4 separate regions of the Homo sapiens genome follow, and all the other regions are linked to region 1. Evidence: promoter capture Hi-C in 16 types of primary human blood cells and fetal thymus (Javierre and others, 2016). All regions are on one chromosome and are shown on one strand. The core of a region is centred on a gene start or on the middle of the fragment in contact, and the rest is flanking DNA. Distances in the headings are between cores, read along the strand shown. Region 1 holds the start of LENG1 (leukocyte receptor cluster member 1). Region 2 overlaps ETFB (electron transfer flavoprotein subunit beta). Region 3 overlaps ZNF175 (zinc finger protein 175). Region 4 holds the start of LINC01530 (long intergenic non-protein coding RNA 1530).

Evidence for each region. The method cuts DNA at HindIII sites, captures the fragments that hold promoters and counts their contacts. A CHiCAGO score of 5 or more calls a contact.
Region 2: a contact is called between a fragment that was not itself captured here and the fragment with the promoter of LENG1 in region 1, in 3 of 17 cell types (non-activated CD4 T cells, total CD4 T cells and activated CD4 T cells). The highest score is 9.5, in non-activated CD4 T cells.
Region 3: a contact is called between a fragment that was not itself captured here and the fragment with the promoter of LENG1 in region 1, in 2 of 17 cell types (total CD4 T cells and activated CD4 T cells). The highest score is 8.5, in total CD4 T cells.
Region 4: the fragment with the promoter of LINC01530 here is called in contact with the fragment with the promoter of LENG1 in region 1 in 2 of 17 cell types (total CD4 T cells and non-activated CD4 T cells); the score reaches 5.5 in total CD4 T cells.

The regions. Positions count from the first base shown.
Region 1 is chr19:54,158,368-54,161,025 of GRCh38, forward strand. It overlaps LENG1 (leukocyte receptor cluster member 1), which reads right to left and starts at 1,354. Exons shown (of 4, transcript NM_024316.3): 1 at 1,197-1,354; 2 at 1-94. The coding sequence starts at 1,328. It overlaps TMC4 (transmembrane channel like 4), which reads right to left. Exons shown (of 15, transcript NM_144686.4): 13 at 2,511-2,658; 14 at 2,100-2,178; 15 at 1,741-2,007. The coding sequence ends at 1,939. RefSeq lists an enhancer at 687-1,356. The HindIII fragment of the contact is 1,716 bases long and covers 933-2,648 here.
Region 2 is chr19:51,358,177-51,360,834 of GRCh38, forward strand. All of the region lies in intron 1 of ETFB (electron transfer flavoprotein subunit beta), which reads right to left. Among named protein-coding and RNA genes, the nearest start is that of ETFB, 6.9 kb to the right of the region's middle. The HindIII fragment of the contact is 200 bases long and covers 1,268-1,467 here.
Region 3 is chr19:51,572,468-51,575,125 of GRCh38, forward strand. ZNF175 (zinc finger protein 175) reads left to right here. Exons shown (of 5, transcript NM_007147.4): 2 at 683-934. The coding sequence starts at 863. Among named protein-coding and RNA genes, the nearest start is that of ZNF175, 2.5 kb to the left of the region's middle. The HindIII fragment of the contact is 1,968 bases long and covers 385-2,352 here.
Region 4 is chr19:51,593,017-51,595,674 of GRCh38, forward strand. It overlaps LINC01530 (long intergenic non-protein coding RNA 1530), which reads right to left and starts at 1,364. Exons shown (of 2, transcript NR_034159.1): 1 at 933-1,364; 2 at 1-35. RefSeq lists enhancers at 1-443, 444-1,079, 1,080-1,715, 1,462-1,771, 1,982-2,031 and a silencer at 2,114-2,281. The HindIII fragment of the contact is 8,842 bases long and covers 1-2,498 here.

The DNA.
Region 1 (2,658 bases), core at 104-2,603:
CAGGGCCAGAACCTGGGGCTCCCGCCTCTGCTGCTTCAAGCTCAGGCAGTGAGTTCTGATGTCTGGCTTTCTTCCGTAGGAATTCTGTACGGGCCTGGGGAGAAAGTTATAGGCAGGACATTCAGAACCTAGAGGTAATTCAAGAACTGTGAGTCTGGTGCCCACCACAGAAAATGGCAGTCCAGGGTGCTGGGGTTATGAGAAAGGGAGCACTAGGCGCCTAAAAGAGGCACCTGTCCTAGCTGGGGGTGAGGGTAGGCAGATGAGGCAACGCCTGGGTTTTGTAAACTCCCTTTCAAATAGTAAACCACGGGTCATCAAGGATGTATGGGAGGAGGTCCCTGGCCTAAACCAAAGGGGTTCCTAACCTCAAGTGAGACAATTAAAACAGCCATAAAGGTATGCATTAGGCCAGACGATCTGAATTCTAGCCATGGCTCCAAGTGACTACCCCAAGTCTGCTGAAGCCCTGTCCCCTGCCTTCAGGACGCGGATTTCAAACAGCGCTCAGCAGCCTACTGAGATTCTAAAAACCTAGACTACCTCCCACCCACGGCGGAGGATCAGACTAGCTAAGGAAATGAAAGTTGGGTGTACACCAAACAGATTTAAAGAGCCATACGGAAAGCCCGTGTTTGTGTGTATGTGTCTAGGGGGCGGTGCACGAAAGGGCTCGCCCGATGGCGTGGAGCCTGGCTGTCCGCCTCTCCTTAAAATGTGCCTTCCCCTCACTGAAGCCATCTCACTTCGTGCAACAGAGATGACAGTGCCCCTCTAAGAACGAACAGTGCTTATTGGGGATTCCGCAAGTCAGGTGCACGGCATGTAGTTAGCATACAGTAGATGCTCAATAAATAGGCTGTGCAGGCAAACTAAAAAGTGATCCGAATTTCCTTGAACTGTCCAAGGGTTCACGGATTCATTAAATGTTAAGCTTCTCTTTTGTGCTAGACACTGTTCCAGCCATGTGAAATACATCAGTGGGGGAAAAACTAAGACGAGGGCGAGATCAAGGAAGGTTTCGTGGAAGTGGGCACAAGGTTTGCGGGGCAACGTCCTCGAAAGTGGGATCGGCGCCTGGTCCCGAATTTCACACGGGGCACATTGAGCCTGCGCAACGCCTCCGCTTCCGGCCCCCAACCGCGGCGCCTGCGCGCTGGGCCCCGGAGCGCCGCCCTGCCGGCTTCCGAGCTTACCTCTTGCTGAGCCAGCAGCACCCTCCGCTCACGCTCCTTCTCCTCCTCCCGGGCCTGGGCCTCGTCACGCCGCACGCGGGCGACATTGTCCTTGTTCCGGACGTGCCAGCTCTTCTTGGGCAAGATATTCATGGCGTCGTAGCTGTCCAGGGACTGGCACGCCCGCCTCTTTGCACTTCCGATTGGCGAGAGGATGCCCCCCTTTTTCTTGTCCCTACTTCGACCGCGGATTGGTTCCGAATTAGTTGGTACGGCCCCCTGGCCTGTAGCGACAGGTGATTGGCTGAGACGCCCTTTATCACAGCGAATGCTAGGCGTTCGGCTCGTGGTATCCCCTAGCAACCGCCTCTTGTCACAGATCTGAACCAATCATAAGTTGGCCCGCCCCTGATGCTACCAGATGCGGCCGTCGATTGGCCGACATGACCGACAAGTCTCCTTGCGGAAGAGCGCTCTGCACCGACAAACATGCCCGTACATTTGATTGGCTCCTGCCCCGCTGTAGCCCTGCCCCCACCTTCAGGACGCAGATTTCAAAGCGCGCTCAGCAACCTCGGCTGTATTTATTGATACAAGGAAGATCACCCGAGAGTCAGGGACGTGGCGGCGAGGGGCCCTGGAAATCTCCAGATACCAAAGCTGGAAGGGCGTGGAGTCTTCTCCAGTTCTCCTAGTTTACAGATGTTGTGACCTAGGCTTACAATGGGCCTGGGGTCTGAAAGCGGGACGTGGGCTGCGGGGGTCAAAGAGCCGGTTTGGTGGAGGTCAGCGCCACAGCGCGCCGTGCCAGGAAGACTTTATTCTGCGCCTCCTGGGGCAAAGAGAGGTGGAGGTGAGACAATCCTCTTCCCCAACCCCTTTCCATGTTCCCCAGGGGCCCTCTCAGGGACCCGCCTGGCTCACCGTCTCTCTCTGACGTTTGAGCTCAGAGATGAGGCGTCCGTAGGAGTTAGCCAGAGCCACAGTGTACGCCATCAGGATGCTGAAGGAGACAGGAACGGAAGCCACTCCTGACACGCTCTTCCATTATATCCAAACGTCTGGCTCCTTCGAAGCCAGGGATGTGGACGCCTAAGCCCCTCCTCGTCTGGGCTCAAGGAGTTCAGTCTCCCAGCCCCTCCGCCTTCAGATCCAGGAGTCCTACGTCCCGCCCACCTCCTCCTTCGGACCCAGCAGTCCAGGAGCCTAGGCCTCCTCCCTCAGACTCAGTACGTTGCCTGCTCCCACGCCCAAGCCTCTCCTCTCTTGGACGCAGGTGGTGGCCCCCAGATCACACGCATTCAAACCCAGACCCAGAAGTCTGGGCCGTCTCACCTGGAGATCAGCAGAAGGGGCACAGCAAAAGCCTGGGTCCCCAGGAAGAAGAGGAAATTCTGGGTGGTCTCAGGGAGGCTGGAAATAGACTCAGGGATCTGGGCCCAGATGGACGACTGCCCCCGGAATGGACCACACAGCTTAGAAG
Region 2 (2,658 bases), core at 118-2,617, 2.8 Mb before region 1:
CCAGAGCAGATCTCGGGTGGCAGCTGAGCCTGGTGAGGACACTGGGATGCTCTTGCTATTTCCCTGCCCCTTTTTCTCTGGGGCTGTGGGTGTAACTGTTCCTCCCACAGGCAGGACAGAATCCGAGATGAGAAGGTGGGACCCATAAGGGGCTTCCCACTCTGGCTGTGCCTCATGGAGAGGGTAACATTAAAAGATGGAGGACTGAGACCGGGCGCAGTGGCTCCTGTCTGTAATCCCAGAAATTTGGGAGGCCAAGGTGGGAGGATCACTTGTGCCCAGGAGTTGGATACTAGCCTGGGCAACAGGTTCTACAAACAACAACAACAAAAACAAAAACAGCTGGGCGTGGTGGCTCATGCCTGTAATCCCAGCACTTTGGGAGGCCAAGGTGGGCGGATCACCTGAGGTCAAGAGTTCAAGACCAGCCTGGCCAACATGGCAAAACCCCATCTCTACTAAAAATAAAAATAAAATAAAAAATTAGCCGGGCATGGTAGTGCACGCCTGTAATTGCAGCTACTCAGAGGCTGGGGCAGGGAGAATTGCTTGAACCCAGGAGGTGGAGGTTGTAATGAGCCAAGATTGCGCCACGGCACTCCAGCCTGGGCGACAGAGCAAGACTCCGCCTCAAAACAAACAAACAAACAACAACAAAAAAAAAAAAAAAAAAACAGCCAGGTATGGTGGCACACACCTGTAGTCCCAGCTACTCAGGAGGCTGAGGCGGGAGGATCACCTGAGCCCAGGAGGTCAAGGGTGCAGTGAGCCGTGATCATGCCACTACATGTAACCTGGGTGACAGAGCAAGACCTCATCTCAAAAAAGAAAAAGAAAAAGAAAAAGGAGAAAGAGGAGAAGGAGCTGGAAGAGGAGAGGAAAGAGAAAGAACTGTTATTTTCATCTCTCTCGTTGCCCAGGCTGGAGTGCAGAGGTGCCACCTTGCCTTACTGCAACCTCCACCTCCCGGGCTCAGGTGATCCTCCCACTTCAGCCTCCCCAGTAGCTGGGACCACAGGCGGGCACCATCATGCCGGGCTAATTTTTTTTTTTTTACTTTTTGTAGAGAAAGGATTTCCCCGTGTTTCCCAGGCTGGTCTGGAACTCCTGGCCTAAAGTGATCCGCCTGCTTCAGCCTACCAAAGTGATGGGATTACAGGTGTGAGTCGCAGTGCCTGGCCTTTTTTCTTAAAAAAAAAAACACAACATAGGAGTTGCCCCTTTAAGACAGAAAAGAACCTCATCCACCCATCAGTAAGAGGCCCCAAGCTTCTTGCTGTGAGTCAGGGAGGCTTCTGAAGGGCCTCAAGCCACATCTTGCTCTTGCTCTGGCAGAACTCCCAGCCCTAAGCTCCTGATTCCCAGGCTCCTGACTCCTGAGGAGAAAGGGTAAGAACTTTCCAGACACACACACACACACGCACGCACACACACCTGAGGAAACAAACTAGCTCATCTTCTCAATTAAGCTTGAGTTGATTTTAAGCTTCAAAAACAGTTTAGTTATATTACATAAGTCAGGAAACAATGGTAGGGCTGAAAAATGATAGCTTGTTTGTTTTTTAAATAATGATGGCTCATGCCTGTAATCCCAGCACCTTAGGAGACTGAGGAAGGAGGATCACTGGAGCCCAGGATTTCAAGACCAGCCTGGGCAACATAGAGAGACTTCATCTCTACCAAAAAACAAAATTAGCAGGTCATGGTGGCGTGCACCTGTAGTCCCAGCTACTGAGGAGGCTGAGGTGGGAGGACGGCTTGAACCCAGGAGGGTCGAGGCTGCAGCGAGCTGTGACTGTACCACTCTAGCCTGGGTGACAGAGCTAGACCTTGTCTCAAAAAGAAAAAAAAAAAGTTTTATAATTGAGGTAAATCATTCAGCATTAAGTGCTGGCTTTCTCTTAAAGAGACGACATATCCACCAATATCAAAAACAGCCTCAAAGCTGGGCGTGGCGGCTCACACCTGTAATCCCAGCACTTTGTGGGGCTGAGGTGGGTGGATCACTTGTGGTCAGGAGTTCGAGACCAGCCTGGCCAACATGGTAAAACCCCATCTCTACTAAAAATACAAAAATTAGTCGAGCGTTTTAGCACATGCCTGTAATTCCAGCTAGTTGGGAGGCTGAGGGAGGAGAATCACTTGAACCCGGGAGGTGGAGGTTGCAGTGAGCAGGGATCACATCAATGCACTCCAGCCTGGGTGACAGACCAGATTCTATCTCAAAAAAAAAAAAAGAAAAGAAAAAAAAAATTTTTTTAAAAGCAGCACTGACCCATGCAGACAACGAGTCAAGGGTTTTATATGCATTAACTCGTTTGACCATCCTAGTAGCCTGTGAGGTTGGTTACTGCCATTACCTCTCATTTTACAGATGAGGCAACTGAGGCACAGAGAGGCCAAGTACCTTGGCCAGGGCCACTGAGCATGGAAGTGGCAGGACCACGGGTCTAACCCCAAATCTGTCTTGGGAACTGTGAGACTCTGAAAGAGGCTACGTGTGCCCACGGTGTTAGGAGAGCCAGTCTTCCTATTTGTTGTCCACTGCAGGCAAGAGGGATTTTCTTCTCTTCTCTTTTCTTTCTCTCTTTCTCTCTCTCTCTCTCTCTCTCTTTCTCTTTCTTTTTGATACAGAGTCTTGTTCTGTTGCCCAGGCTG
Region 3 (2,658 bases), core at 119-2,618, 2.6 Mb before region 1:
CTGTGTGTGGTGTATTATGGACGGGGACTGAAAAGTCCAGAAGCTCAGAATAGGTACACCAGACAGAGCCACCTCCCGGCCTGAGTTCTATGAAGGCAACAGAAAGAGGAAATGGTGTTTCTGGAAGCTGGCCACGTATGGGTACATGAGATAGTGGAGACAGTGTACAGTTTAGAACAAGGCAGATGTGGGGCTGATTCCCTGTTTTTCCATTTACAGACTGAGTAACCTTCAGGCAAATTATGTAACAGCACACAGCCTCATTATCCTCATCCTCAAAATGGGTATGATAATGCCCATGATATTTAGCTGACAATTAAATTGACAACTTTCTTTTTTTAATTCATATTTATCACGTGCCAGGCAGGCACTGAGGACTTGACAAGCTTCATCTTGGTTAAGTTTCCCAACATCTGTGATAAATACCTGCATTTTCATTTTGGAAACTACAACTAAAGTAATATTTTCATATTCTCACAGTGAAAATGTGGCAAAGCTGCAATGAATTCACCATTTAGTCCAGACTCAGTCTTTATTTTTAACCCTGACTAATAACTAGAGTTGGGCTTTCTGAACTTTGTCTACTCCAATGTCTGACACAGTGACTTCACCTCAGTGCCCTCAGGAAATATTTGTGGAGTGAATGTTGAATGAGTGACCATGTACTCATTGCTTTTCCAAGGCTTCTGCAGAACCCCCAGGTCAGGCCACATCATTGAGGCTGCAGGATCTCTCTTCATAGCCCAGTACGACTCTCCGCCGTGTCCCTGGTTGGAAAATCCAAACACCTATCCAGCTTCTGGCTCCTGGGAAAAGTGGAGTTGTCAGCAAGAGAGACCGAGAGTAGAAGCCCAGAGTGGAGATGCCTGCTGATGTGAATTTATCCCAGAAGCCTCAGGTCCTGGGTCCAGAGAAGCAGGATGGATCTTGCGAGGTAAACAGGGGCAGCCCTGGGGATAGTTCTCCAGAACGTGAGGGCAGACACAGGATGCAGCAGGTCTGGGCTCCCTGCTCCTGAGTCAGTCTTGAGCCTCCTGTCAAGCGAGGACCACAGAGGCTGATGTTTCCACATTCATAGGCTATCTGTGTTCTAGAGGAAACCATGAACTGGCTGATAAAAGAGGATAGTAGAGGGTTGGCCTTGGGTCAAGAAAGAAGAAACTGTAGTCCCTGGTCTGATCAGAAGCCCCAGTCATAGGATGGAAAAGCTGACTCTTTCCTGCTAAGCACTGGTTCTGCTCCTTCATCCACCACTGGGTCTTTGAAAAATTTCAAGTGGTCCCCCCCACCAAATTCCTTGCTTGGTCCATGGGGTTTGGCCCGTTTTTCCTCTGTTCTCATAAGGTGCGGCAAAATCTCCTTCCTTTGTAATTTAAATAGTCACAGGGAGGTAGAGTGAGAAGAGGCTTTTAAGGACCATGTGAAGAGGCTTTTAAACACTTTTTCCTGTTTAAAAAGGTGAACAAAAAATGCTGGAAAACAGTGTTTCCAGATTGCCCACAGATAGAAATAGTCAGGATTTGGTAACAAGAAATCAGAATTCTTGGTATAGTCAAGATTTCCTGAAATCCTAAATTATTCTGTGTATCTCTTGATGCTTTATTTACAAGTCTTTAAATAGTATGTGACTATAATAGTAAACAGTGTACCATTGTTCTGTGATGGGTTTATAACCAAATTTACAGAGATGTTCTGTTTTTTAAAAAAAGTATAATAAATATGTGTGTTATTATCCTGAACCAATATATTGTGAGATTATATATTTCAGTAACCTGTTAAAATCATCTCAACCTGCTAGAAACATTTGATAATAGAAAGTATTAAAAGAAGGGAACATTAACACAAAATAAATTGCACATATAAATCATTTTCAAAATTGTAAATACCCCAAATATTTAAAAGTCGTTCTTAAAAGAAAAATTGAAACATACAAGTTTAGGTGGGGCACAGTGGCTCATGCACTTTGGGAGGCCGAGGCGGGCGGATCACTTGAGCCCAGGAGTTGGAGACCAGCCTGGGCAACATGGCGAGACTCTACAAAAATACAAAAATTAGCCAGGTGTGGTGGCATGCACCTGTAGTCCCAGCTACTGAGTACGTTGACGTGGGAGGATCACCTGAGCTTGAGGCGGTCAAGGTTGCAGTGAGCTGCAATCATGACACTACACTCCAGCCTGGGCAATAGAGTGAGACCCTGTCTCAAAACAAAACAAGTTTAAAACATGAAATTGTCTAAGTCTTTGTGACAGCAGTGCAGATGCACAAACGTTTCTCTCATTTGCATTGATGTTGGTCAACTTGCGTGTTCAGAACATCTTCAAGTTTAGCGTTTTAGGACACATGTTCAATATAAGCTTTTTTCCTTTTTTAACAATGAAATTTTTTTTCTGCTTGACCTGATTTCCAGTTTATCATTTGAATCAATACTGCTGTCGCTAATTCAGATTTTCCATCAGTGTCTGAATTCATGTCAGAGTATATCCCAGTACCATGCACATTATCTTCTCTTTGTGGTGTGTATTTCCCTCTGCTCTGGACAGTACTATTTTTATTTTGTTATTTTTATCTTTTCTAATGTGATGGAAATAAAGATAGTATAGTGTTTTAATTTGCATTACTTTGTTTACAAACAGGCTTTTTTTTCATAATTTTATTGGT
Region 4 (2,658 bases), core at 114-2,613, 2.6 Mb before region 1:
CGGAGGATTGGCGGATCCGGGACAGAAGGCGAGGCCTGGAGGATGGGGAGGGGCAGCCATGTGAGCCTCAGGGAGGACCCAGAACCAACCACCCCACTTCCAACACTGATTCACCTCCAGGGCCTCTGCTTGTGGCCAGGATCTTCCCCCTCCAGCATATGGTAGCCTCTGAAAAGCAGGTGGGGCTGGGAGAGGAGCATCCCGCTTAGTTTCACCCTTCCAGAGACACAGGAAGGCATGGAGGCCAAACACCTGTCTCTGACAGGGTCCCCATGCCACAGCCCAGCCCTCCAGTCCAGGGTAGCCCATGTCCCCCTCAGCCCAGGGCGGCCCATACCTGCCTCATCATGTCAGGACCTGCAGCTCCTGCCTCCCACCTGGCAGTGATGTCATCCTCATCATCCCAACCCCACTACACGTTGGAGAAGCCATTTATCTTCAGGTAGTGAGTGGGGTGCAGGGCAAACACCCCTCCAAGGCACAAGCTAACGGCTTAATTGCTGTTGTTTCCCCATGTTCTGGCTTGCAGCACTTGTAACCTCTGGGCTCCTGCAGCCCTTAACATCTGATACCTTTACATTAAGATTTATCATCCTTATCTCTGGACCAGGCTGAATACACCTGTGTCCCGGTGCATCTGGCCAGCGGGTCAAAGGGCCTAGCACACAGATTAACAAATGAATGAGTTCCAGTTACCAAAGTTCAATCCTTGAGGTGGACAGAAGACGCCCAAGGCGTGTCTCCCATCACCCTTCACTCTCAATCCTCCTTATCAAGGGCCTCACGGGAATAGTGATAAGATCTCAGAATATACAGGAGGGAGCAGTTTCGGGAAGGGGGGCATTGGAAGGAAGTGGAGGGCTTGGATCTGGGGAGCAAGCGGGGAGAGTGCTCCGTTCCTTGGTTTTGGGATCTTGCCTTACGGGTCTCACCTGCCCTCCATCCTGGCTTCCACCTGGCAGGGTGTGTTTGTGTCAGAAAGACGATTGTGCGTAACTGTTCACCGCGTCCACGTCCCGAGAGTTGCGCACGCGTGGAGATCTGCAAAACGCTCCCTTTCAGCTCCGCGCATGCACAGAGACCCCACCCCGCAAGTCCTTGCCCTTCGGCCTGGGCAGGCGTCCACTCCCATGGCTGCAGGGCGCGCCGAAGAGCCCACTCTGCATCCCCGAGACGCGGCCCAATCCTAGGAATGTGCTTAGCGCAGGTGCTATCTTCCCTTTTCACATTCCCAATCTCTTTCTCCGCCCCCTCAAACTCTTGCCATACTCCCACAACAGCAGAAAATCTGAAAAAAAAGTCCATCCCATCTTTGCACTGACAGCAGTGCACAGCAGCTGGCAGAGAATTCTGGCACGGCTATTGTGCTTGCGCAGGCGCAGACGGGAAGCGGGCCGGACCGGCCTAGTACACTCTGGGAGGCGTGCGCAGAATGCGCAGCGCTGCCGCGAGGATCTCTGGGAACTGTAGGCCCAGTTTGTCCGAGAGCCGCAAGTGTTTCGGGACGACGCAACGCAGGGGCACCTGGGAGTCGTAGGCGGATGGGCCCAAAGCCTTCCGGGAGTCGTAGTCCTTCCGCCCGCTCCTCGTTTCTTTGGAGGTTGGCCCTTCCAGCTCCAGTTCTGCCCAGGTGAGCGCCCATCCCGCGGCCGGCCGGTCCTGGCCCTTTGTCGCGATGACGTGGCGGAGTTGAGGGTCTCTGTATTTCTCTCCCCCGCGTTCTGGTAGGCGTCCCTGGAAAGATGGCACCCTTTTCCGTGATCTCTCAATCCCTCTCTCCGGGTGGGAGTGCTCTAAGCAGCTGTTGTACCTGCTGACCCGCTTTGGATTCTGCGGCCCAGCCTGACACCTTCTCACTCTCGCCCTTCAACCTGGGTGCAGTGCGAGTGCACCCTCCTCTGTCCTGGTTACAACACAGAGTGGTCAGGGCTGGCCCAGGGGGTGCTCAGGAGGCTGTGGGAACACAGAGGAGGTGCTAGACCCAGCCCAGGGTTCAGGAAAGACCTTACAGAGCAAAGGACCTCAAATCTACCACATCCAAACGAAATCCCAGATTCCCTGTCCTAAACCTGCTCCTCTCACAATCTTTCTGCCTCCTCCCCACTAACTGTCCATCCAAGTGCTCAAGCCAAAATCTTGGAATGGTCGCCAGTGTTCTGTTTCTCTCATCCGCTTCCCTCCCGCAACCAAATCTTGTGTGAGTCTCATCGTCTCTATCTCCAGAAGAGGCCCAGAATCTAACCACTTCTCTCCACTTCCACTGTCTCCATTCTGCTCCGAGCTACCGTTACTCCTCACCTGCATCACTGCAGGGGCCTCCTCACTGTTCTGTTTCTTCCCTTGCCACACTCCACCCTCTATTCAGGCACAGTGCCAGGAAGCCTGTGGAAATATAAATCAGATCCTGTCACCAGTCACTACCCTGCCCCCCAGCTTAAAATCATCCAGTGGTTCCCATCTCAGAATAAAATCCAAGCTCCTTATCCTGCCAACCTCTAAGCTTCTGGTCCTTTCTGGTCGTCCTCAGTCACAACACACTTTCCAATGGGCTGAACACAGCCAGGCCCTGCCCTTCATGTCCTTTGCATTTGCTATTAACTCAATTTGGAGCATTCTTCCCACCCTGACCCAATATCTGTCTACTCATTTTGTTGGCCT